2 separate regions of the Homo sapiens genome follow, and region 1 is linked to region 2. Evidence: promoter capture Hi-C in 16 types of primary human blood cells and fetal thymus (Javierre and others, 2016). All regions are on one chromosome and are shown on one strand. Each heading gives the region's core, a stretch centred on a gene start or on the middle of the fragment in contact. The rest is flanking DNA. Distances are from core to core; before and after follow the strand shown.

Evidence for each region. The method cuts DNA at HindIII sites, captures the fragments that hold promoters and counts their contacts. A CHiCAGO score of 5 or more calls a contact.
Region 1: the fragment with the promoter of H3-4 here is called in contact with a fragment that was not itself captured in region 2 in 1 of 17 cell types (erythroblasts); the score reaches 5.2 in erythroblasts.

What each region holds. Positions count from the first base shown.
Region 1 is chr1:228,424,073-228,428,528 of GRCh38, reverse strand. It overlaps H3-4 (H3.4 histone, cluster member), which reads left to right and starts at 3,169. Exons shown (of 1, transcript NM_003493.3): 1 at 3,169-3,684. The coding sequence starts at 3,204. The coding sequence ends at 3,614. The HindIII fragment of the contact is 2,523 bases long and covers 2,941-4,456 here.
Region 2 is chr1:228,271,305-228,275,168 of GRCh38, reverse strand. OBSCN (obscurin, cytoskeletal calmodulin and titin-interacting RhoGEF) reads right to left here. Exons shown (of 116, transcript NM_001386125.1): 20 at 2,948-3,244; 21 at 1,622-1,897; 22 at 1,121-1,399; 23 at 725-991; 24 at 328-597. LOC124904535 (a long non-coding RNA gene) reads left to right here. Exons shown (of 3, transcript XR_007066916.1): 2 at 99-1,409. Among named protein-coding and RNA genes, the nearest start is that of OBSCN-AS1, 60 kb to the right of the region's middle. The HindIII fragment of the contact is 4,392 bases long and covers 1-3,864 here.

The sequences.
Region 1 (4,456 bases), core at 1,920-4,419, 150 kb before region 2:
TCAGGTAATCATTGATAAGGCAAAGATGGCAATGTAGTGGGTGCTATAGTTTGAATAAGGTGTTTGTCTCATTAATTCTCATGTTGAAATTTAATCTCCAGTGTTGGAGGTGCAGCCTGGTGGGAGGTGCTTGGGTCCTGGGGGCAGATCCTTCATGAATAGACTCCTGCCCTCCCTTGTAGGGAGTGGAGTTCTTGCTCTATTAGTTCCTGCCAAAGCTGGTTGTTAAAAACAGCCCGGCACCTCCTCCTCTCTCTTTCCCTGTGACCTCTGCACACAGGGGCTCCCCTTCATCTTCCACCATGAATGGAGGCTTCCTGAGGTCCTCATCAGAAGCAGATGCTGAAGCCTTGCTTCTTATACAGCCTGCAGAACCATAAGCCAAAAAAAGTTTTGATAAATTACCCAGCTTCTAGTATTCCTTTACAGCAACGCAAAACAGACAAAGACAGTGGGCCTGTCATGCATCAACAAGGGGCGCTGTAGGGGAGGCAGAATTCTACCTCCATTATCTTAGGGTCCAGGGTGGGCCCAAGAATTAGACTGACATTAGAGAGATGAGCAGGAGAAAAACATACAGTTATTTAATACAAATTTAATGTGGTACAGGAGCCCTCATAAGGAAATGAAGATGCAAAGAGGCAGTTAGAGTCACTTATATACAGAGGTGGACAAACACTATTAAGTTGTGAGATTTGATACGGCCACGGGGCTTGAGTGAGGATAGTTAATGGGGTGAAGAAATGACTAAGTCAAAATACTTACACACTAGGTTGAACAAAGAGTAGTAACTGTGGCAACAACTAGGAAGATAAGGGTTAGTTTAATAAAGTTTGTTTGTATAGATTTCTCTTGGCTTCTATCTTGGTCTGTTTCATGTTGTTAAAGGAATACCTGAGGCTGGATGATTTATTAAAAAAAAAAAAGGTTTATTTGGCTTATGGTTTCGCAGGCTGTACAAGAAGCACAGTGGCTGGGCGCAGTGGCTCACGCCTGTAATCCCAGCTACTCAGGAGGCTGAGGCAGGAGAGTCGCTTGAACTTCCCGGGAGGCGGATGTTGCAGTGGGCTGAGATCACATCACTGCACTCCAGCCTGGGCAACAGAGTGAGACTCAGGTCAAAAAATTAAAAAAAAAAAAGCATAGTGGCCGGGCACGGTGTAATCCTAGCACTTTGGGAGGCCAAGGTCGGGGGATCAGTTGAACTCAGGAATTCAAGACCAGCTTGGGCAACATAATGACAGCCCATCTCTACAAAAAAATTAAAAATTTAAAAATTAGCTGGATGTGGTCCCAGCTACTTGGGAGGCTGAGGTAAGAGGGGCCTGGGCAACAGAGCAAGATGAAAAAAGGAGGGAAAGGAGGGGAGGGGAAGGGAGAAGAAAAAAAGGAAGGGAGGGAGGGAGTGAGGAAGGGAGGGAAGGAGAAAGGAAGGGAGGGAAGGAGAAAGGAAGGGAGGGAAGGAGAAAGGAAGGGAGGGAAGGAGAAAGGAAGGGAGGGAGTGAGGAAGGGAGGGAAGGAGAAAGGAAGGGAGGGAGGGAGAAAGGAAGGAAGCAAGCATAGGGCCCACCTCTGCTTCTGGTGAGGGCCTCTGGCTGCTTCTGCTCATGGTGGAAGGTGAAGGGGAACCCATGTATGTGCAGAGGTCACAGGGCTGCCGCGAGAGAGGACGCCAGAGAGAGAGGGGAGAGGGGTGCCAGGCTCTTTTCAACACCAGCTCTTCAGGGAACCAACAGAGTGAAAACTCACCCTAAAGGAGGGCAGGACTCTATTCAGAGGGTGACACCCCAGGACCCACACACCTCCCACTGGCCCCCCCCTCCCTGGGCTCCAACTTTAGGGATCAAATTTCAACTTGAGAGTTGGAGGAGATTTGGAAGCTTCCACCTCCCGTCCTTGATGATAAGAACGTTCCCTTGCTTTTACTATAAGGAGAACATCTTTCATATGGGAATTTCATCTCTTGTATTTAAGAAACAACAAGAAATTCAGAATGATCTTCCTACACCTGCTTCTTCTTTTTTTTTTTTAAGTGCCTTTATCTCAAAATAGACAATATGCCAGAAAGGCACATCTTTACCTTCTTCAGAATCCTAAGGCTCATCTAAGCCGTACAGGTAAGGGAGTTCTTTGCAGGTCATAAAAAGTGGGAGATTCCTTTAACTCTGGCTGCATCCCAGAGCTTTGTCACTGTGTAAAAGTGGAATGCCGGCCGGGCACGCTGGCTCACGCCTGTAATCCCAACACTTTGGGAGGCCGAGGCGGGCGGATCACGAGGTCAGGAGATCGAGACCATCCTGGCTAACATGGTGAAACCCCGTCTCTACTAAAAATACAAAACAAAATTAGCCAGGCATGATGGCGGGCACCTGTAGTCCCAGCTACTCTGTAGGCTGAGGCAGGAGAATGGCGTGAACCCGGGAGGCGGAGCTTGCAGTGAGCTGGGATTGCGCCACTGCACTCCAGCCTGGGCGACAGAGAGAGACTCCGTCTCAAAAAAAAAAAAAAAAAAGTGAAATGCCAGCTGGGCCTGGTGGCTCATGCCTGTAATCCCAGCACTTTGGGAGGCCGAGGCGGGTGGATCACCTGAGGTCAGGAGTTCGAGACCAGCCTGGCCAATATGGTGAAACCCCATCTCTATTAAAAACACAAAAAATTAGCCAGGCATGGTGGCGGACACCTGTAATCCCTGTAATTCCAGTTACTCGGGAGGCTGAGGCAGGAGAATCGCTTGAACCTGGGAGGTGGAGGTTGCAGTAAGCAGAGATCACGCTATTGCACTCCAGCCTGGGCAACAAGAGTGAAACTCCATCTCAAAAAATAAAAAAATAAATTAATTTTTTAAAAAAGTGGAATGCCATGTGCTGGCTTCTGGAAGGCTCTTGCCACCCAAGTCATGGGGAAGGGAGAAGAGGAGCGCTGAGAAGACATGAGGAAGCTTGTGCTGGAGAGAGATGATCCCCACCACCGCGGCCTACCCGCATCAACCCTTCACAATGCTGGTGCCAGCTCTGGTGGCCACGACCAACAGGCATGAATATAAGGGAGAGGCGCCCGAGTGGAGTTCCCTGTGGGCCAATCAGAGAGCAGTGGGCCATCACGCCACCTGAGGCCAGCCAATGGGAACGCGGCAAGCTCTATAAAAGCGAGCAATCCGCTGAGGTCTGGGCAGAGGACACCGCGGGGCCAACAGTTTCGGATTCATGGCCCGAACCAAGCAGACTGCGCGCAAGTCAACGGGTGGCAAGGCGCCGCGCAAGCAGCTGGCCACCAAGGTGGCTCGCAAGAGCGCACCTGCCACTGGCGGCGTGAAGAAGCCGCACCGCTACCGGCCCGGCACGGTGGCGCTTCGCGAGATCCGCCGCTACCAGAAGTCCACTGAGCTGCTAATCCGCAAGTTGCCCTTCCAGCGGCTGATGCGCGAGATCGCTCAGGACTTTAAGACCGACCTGCGCTTCCAGAGCTCGGCCGTGATGGCGCTGCAGGAGGCGTGCGAGTCTTACCTGGTGGGGCTGTTTGAGGACACCAACCTGTGTGTCATCCATGCCAAACGGGTCACCATCATGCCTAAGGACATCCAGCTGGCACGCCGTATCCGCGGGGAGCGGGCCTAGGAGGGCTATCTCGCCACCTGAGAGGTTGCGCAACGTTCACCCCAAAGGCTCTTTTAAGAGCCACCCACCTGGTCGAAGAGTTGCTGTAGCAAGCTAGTCTCTTGGGTTTCGGGGGGTTCCTTCCGCTGGCCTGTGCTGGCTTACCTACTTCTGATTAGGGTGGGAGGCTGGTGAATCCTGTGTTCACCCTGTCCAGTTAGGAGGCCAGCTACTCACACGCGTTACCTCTCAGCCTGTCTCCAGTCACAAATCCAGCTAGTAGTGTGTGGGGCTAACTTGGCCTATCCGTTTAGATAAGAATCATGGTTGGTCTGTTTTGGGGACGGGGTGTTGAGGGTAGCCTAATTGGTCTATCTCCAGTTAGGTAAGCAACCCCAGCTAGTTGTGTCAACTCAGCCTATCTACAGTTAGGTTGGAAGGCTGGCTGGTCTTGTGTGTTCTCAGCTCAGCCTCTTTCAAATTAGGTTAGAAGTCCTGCGTGTGTGTGTGTGTGTGTACACGCAGCTTGTTTCCAGTGAGGTTACCAGTCCAGCTAGTCTTCTGCCTTGACAGCCCATCTCCTGTTAAGGCCAGCAAGTAGTATGTATTATCTTGGCCTATTTTAAGTTAGAAGTCCAGCTACTTCACCAGCATAGCAGCTTACGCCTGTAATCCCAGCACTTTGGGAGGCCGAGGCGGGTGTATCACCTGAGGTCAGGAGTTCCAGACCAGCCTGGCCAACATGGTGAAACCCCATCTCTAAAATTAGCCGGGTTTGGTGGCGCATACCTGTAATCCCAGCTACTTGGGAGGCTGAGGCAGGAGAACTGCTTGAACCCAGGGGGCGGAGGTTGCAGTGAGCC
Region 2 (3,864 bases), core at 583-3,082:
CCACTCTCTCTTCCCTGCCATCCATCAGGCTAAGTATGCACCCACCTACTCCAGAAAGCCTCCCTGGATTGCCTCAGCCTCCCCCCATTCCCCACCAGGTGCAACTGCAGGATTGTATCTTCTCTATACCAAGAGAAGGCACCTGGCCCATCCAGCCTACCGGAGTCTCCTCTCTGCAGCCCACACACCCCGTGTCTCCTGAGGTCAGCCGGACCAGCCGTAACAGGACAGCAGTTCCAGGTGCCCACTCAGAACCAGCCCACAGGGGAGGTGCCTGTGCAAGGAGCCCTGGCCAGCCAGGCAAATCCTGCTGCCCCCCACACTCACCTCGGACCCTCAGGGCAGCAGAGGATGAGGCGCCCTCAGCCTCCACGGTGATCTGGCCCGCGTCCTCCAGCACCAGGTCTGAGATGGTCAGGCTGTGGCTGGCGCCACTCTGTGATATGGCAAACTTCTCGCTGGGCTGAAGCAGGGCACCGTCCCGGAACCACACGACTGCCACATCACTGGGGGACACCACGCACTGGAAGGTGGCCTCGCCGCCCTCCTCTGCGACCACGGTGCTCAGCCCAGACATAAACTTCACCACTCGGGGCACTGCAGACAGGAGCACTGCTTAAGAGGCGGGCGCACAGGACTGGCAGAGCCCTTACGCTGCAGGAGTACCAAAGGCCGCCTCCTCCAGGAGGCTGCCCTGGATAGGGACACTCGACCCCTTACATACCACTGACGGTGAGCTGCGCACTGGTGTGGTCATCACGGCTCTCACACACGTACTCCCCTGCGTCCTCTGCGCGCAGCCCCAACACAGTGAGTGAGCGCACGGGCCCCTCGGCCACCATCTGGAAGCGCTTGCCCACCCGAAGCTGCGTGTTGCCGCAGCGCCACACCACCTCTGCACACGCTGGGCTTAGCTCGCAGGCCAGTGTCACCGTGCCACCCAGCTCGCCGCACACAGGCTCCAGCAGCCGGCAGAACTTGGCGGCCACCTCTGTGGGCACAAAGGGGACATCAGCCGGGCTCTTAACAGACCAGACTTGAGCCCCAGCTTCGCCCCTGTCCAGCTCTGGGACAGAGGTGTCTGGAGGAGTCCCCGCCCCACGCCCCATGCCCGGCTCACCTTCCACCTGCACTGGGAAGTCCTGCCCCTCTGCGCCCACACGGCAGCTGTAGATGGCGCTGTCCAGAACCTGGGCGCCATGCACGGTCAGGGTGTGGGTGTCCCCCTGGCTGGCTGTCTCATGCCGCTTGCTGCGGCGAATCTCCACACCATCCTTGAGCCAGGTCACCGTGGCCGCAGAGGGTGTGGCCAGTGTGGCGGTCAGGATGATGTCTTCATGCTCCTTGACCACCAGAGGCTCCCTGCGGCAGGGTCTCTCTGAAATTTGGGGCTCCAGCTCTGGGTAGAGGTGAGTTGGCATGAGAGGGGGACCCTGTCATCCCTGGACCGGCCCCGCTCCCTTCAGGGCCACCCTAATGCTACCTGGCACCCCTGATACCCATTGCTCTTCAAGGATGGCCCAGTGCAGTCCTGAGCACCATCAACTACCATCCAGAATCCCAGGGACCATACAGTGTGGCCATCAGCTTCAGGCGAGGTGGATTCACCCAAAGCACTGACCTGCCACGTGCAGGCGGAAGGACAGCCGTTGGCCCCCCGCCTCACAGCTGTACTCCCCAGCATCCGCCTGGCCCGCCTGCTGCACTACCAGCCTCCGTGTGTAGCCGCTGGCCTCCATGTGCACTTTTGAGCTGGAGCTCAGCTTCTTCCCGTCCTTGTACCATGTCACCTCCATCTGGCCCTGGGCCACCTCACAGCTCAGCGTGGCACTGGCCCCCGCCTCCGCCTGCACCTCCCTGCATGCCGGCTGCTCCTTGGCAAACACCACCTTGGGCTCTGGGATGGACAAGGAGGGATGCAGGGTCAGAGGCTCCAGAGCAGACACAGCCCATGTGTCAGCCCAGTGACAGCCAGGCAGGGCTGTCCATCATTAAGCAGTGCACGGTGACGCACAGAGCTCCCCCCGGCACTACCAGAGCCAAAGGTCTAAGGCTGCATGTTGGCAGCACCATCATCATGTCCCTTGGGAACAGGATGCGGCCCCTTCCCTGCCTCGGTCTTCCAGGGCCCTGGGGCCCTCACCTGTCGCCAGCCCTCCCCACCACGCAGGGCCACAGGCAGTAGGACGTGAAGGGTCAGGAGAGATGGACCAGCAACCTGGGCCAGCCCAGAGGCAGCGGAGTGTTGGCAGGGCCATTGGAAAGAGGGTGCCAAGCTGAGTGTGGTCTGTTGTCCCCAGCTCAGGGACAGGGTGGAAGGGAGATGGATATCAGAAAGACAGGTGGACACATGGTGATGACCAAGGGGCCCAGCACAGGCTTACAGAGATCTAGGGCCCAGAGCACAGAGACAAGCCCCCACCACCCAGTACACGCTCTCCAGTCACTGCCGGGCCCTCCCATGGCCCAGCACCCACAGAGGAGTCAGCAGATCACATTAGACCAGACCCAGACCCCCACCCCAAGGACATCACACCACTGTCCCCACCACCCAGACAGAAATCATCACATCTGACCAGACCCGGACCCCAGACCCCCGAGGACATCACGCTACTGTCCCTACCACCCAGACAGGGGTCCTCACATGAGACCGGACCCAGACCCCAGACCCACACCCCAAGGACATCATGCTACTGTCCCTACCACCCCCGGCTCAGCCACTGCAGGGCACACACCATGGTCAACTCAGCCCATGGGCCTGCTCTAGTCTCATGACATAAGGACACTGGCCTGAGAGCTGCTGGGGAGAGCTGGGGACACAGATTCTGAGGCCTACATAGAGGGAAGGTGCCAGGGCCCACAGCACCTTGGGCCGCCCAAACATGCCCTTGTAGTTTCACACCCGACACTCAGCATCACCTCCATTTTGCCTAACCCTGGCACCCACCAGCCACATGCAGATGGAAGGAGAGCCGCTGGCCCCCAGCCTCGCAGCTGTACTCCCCGGCGTCCGCCTGGCCTGCCTCCTGCACCACCAGCCTCCGTGTGCAGCCCACGGCCTCCACACGCATTTTCGAGCTGGAGCTCAGCTTCTTCCCGTCCTTGTACCACATAACCTCCGTCTGGGCTTGGGCCACCTCGCAGCTCAGCATGGTGCTGGTCCCTGCCTCAGCCTGCACCTCCCTGTGCACCGGCTGATCCTTGGCAAACACCACCTGCTCCTTGGCAAACACCGCCTTGGGCTCTGGGGATGGACAAGGAAGGACATACGAGGTCAAAGATACAGCCTAGGTCAGGAAGACCACCCTAGGATAGGAGGGCCTGGATGAGGAAGTAGGAGAAACAGAACCTTCCCCAGGCTCTGCACTGGCTGCGTGGCCAGGAGAAGTCCTGCCACCTCCCAGCGCAAGAATCACAGTTTGTCTATCCACTGTGCACGGCGCCATGGGCTATCACAGGTGGGGCAGCTATGACAAACCCTCCATGCATGAGCTCCTCCAGGGCAGGGACTAGGGTACCTGCACATGCGGCTCTTCTTCAAGCATGTATGGAGCTTTAAATCCACTTGTCATTTTTCAACCTTGCATCCCCCAAAACCACATTTGTTTGGATTTTGATTGAGACTGAACGTCTTTCATTCTTCCATGGCTTCTATCCACTTTAGATCTTTACTGTCTCTCAAAAGTGTTTCATAGCTTCCCCCACAGAACCTCTCGACATCTTTTATTAGACTGGGATCATAAACATGATGCCTTTGAGGCGTCTGTCAATCTTTTACGTTTTCATTTTCCAACTGCTTGCTGCTAGTCTACATGTACGGAAGTTTCTTCACACAGATCTTGCAAGGGTTGATCTTTCTCAACT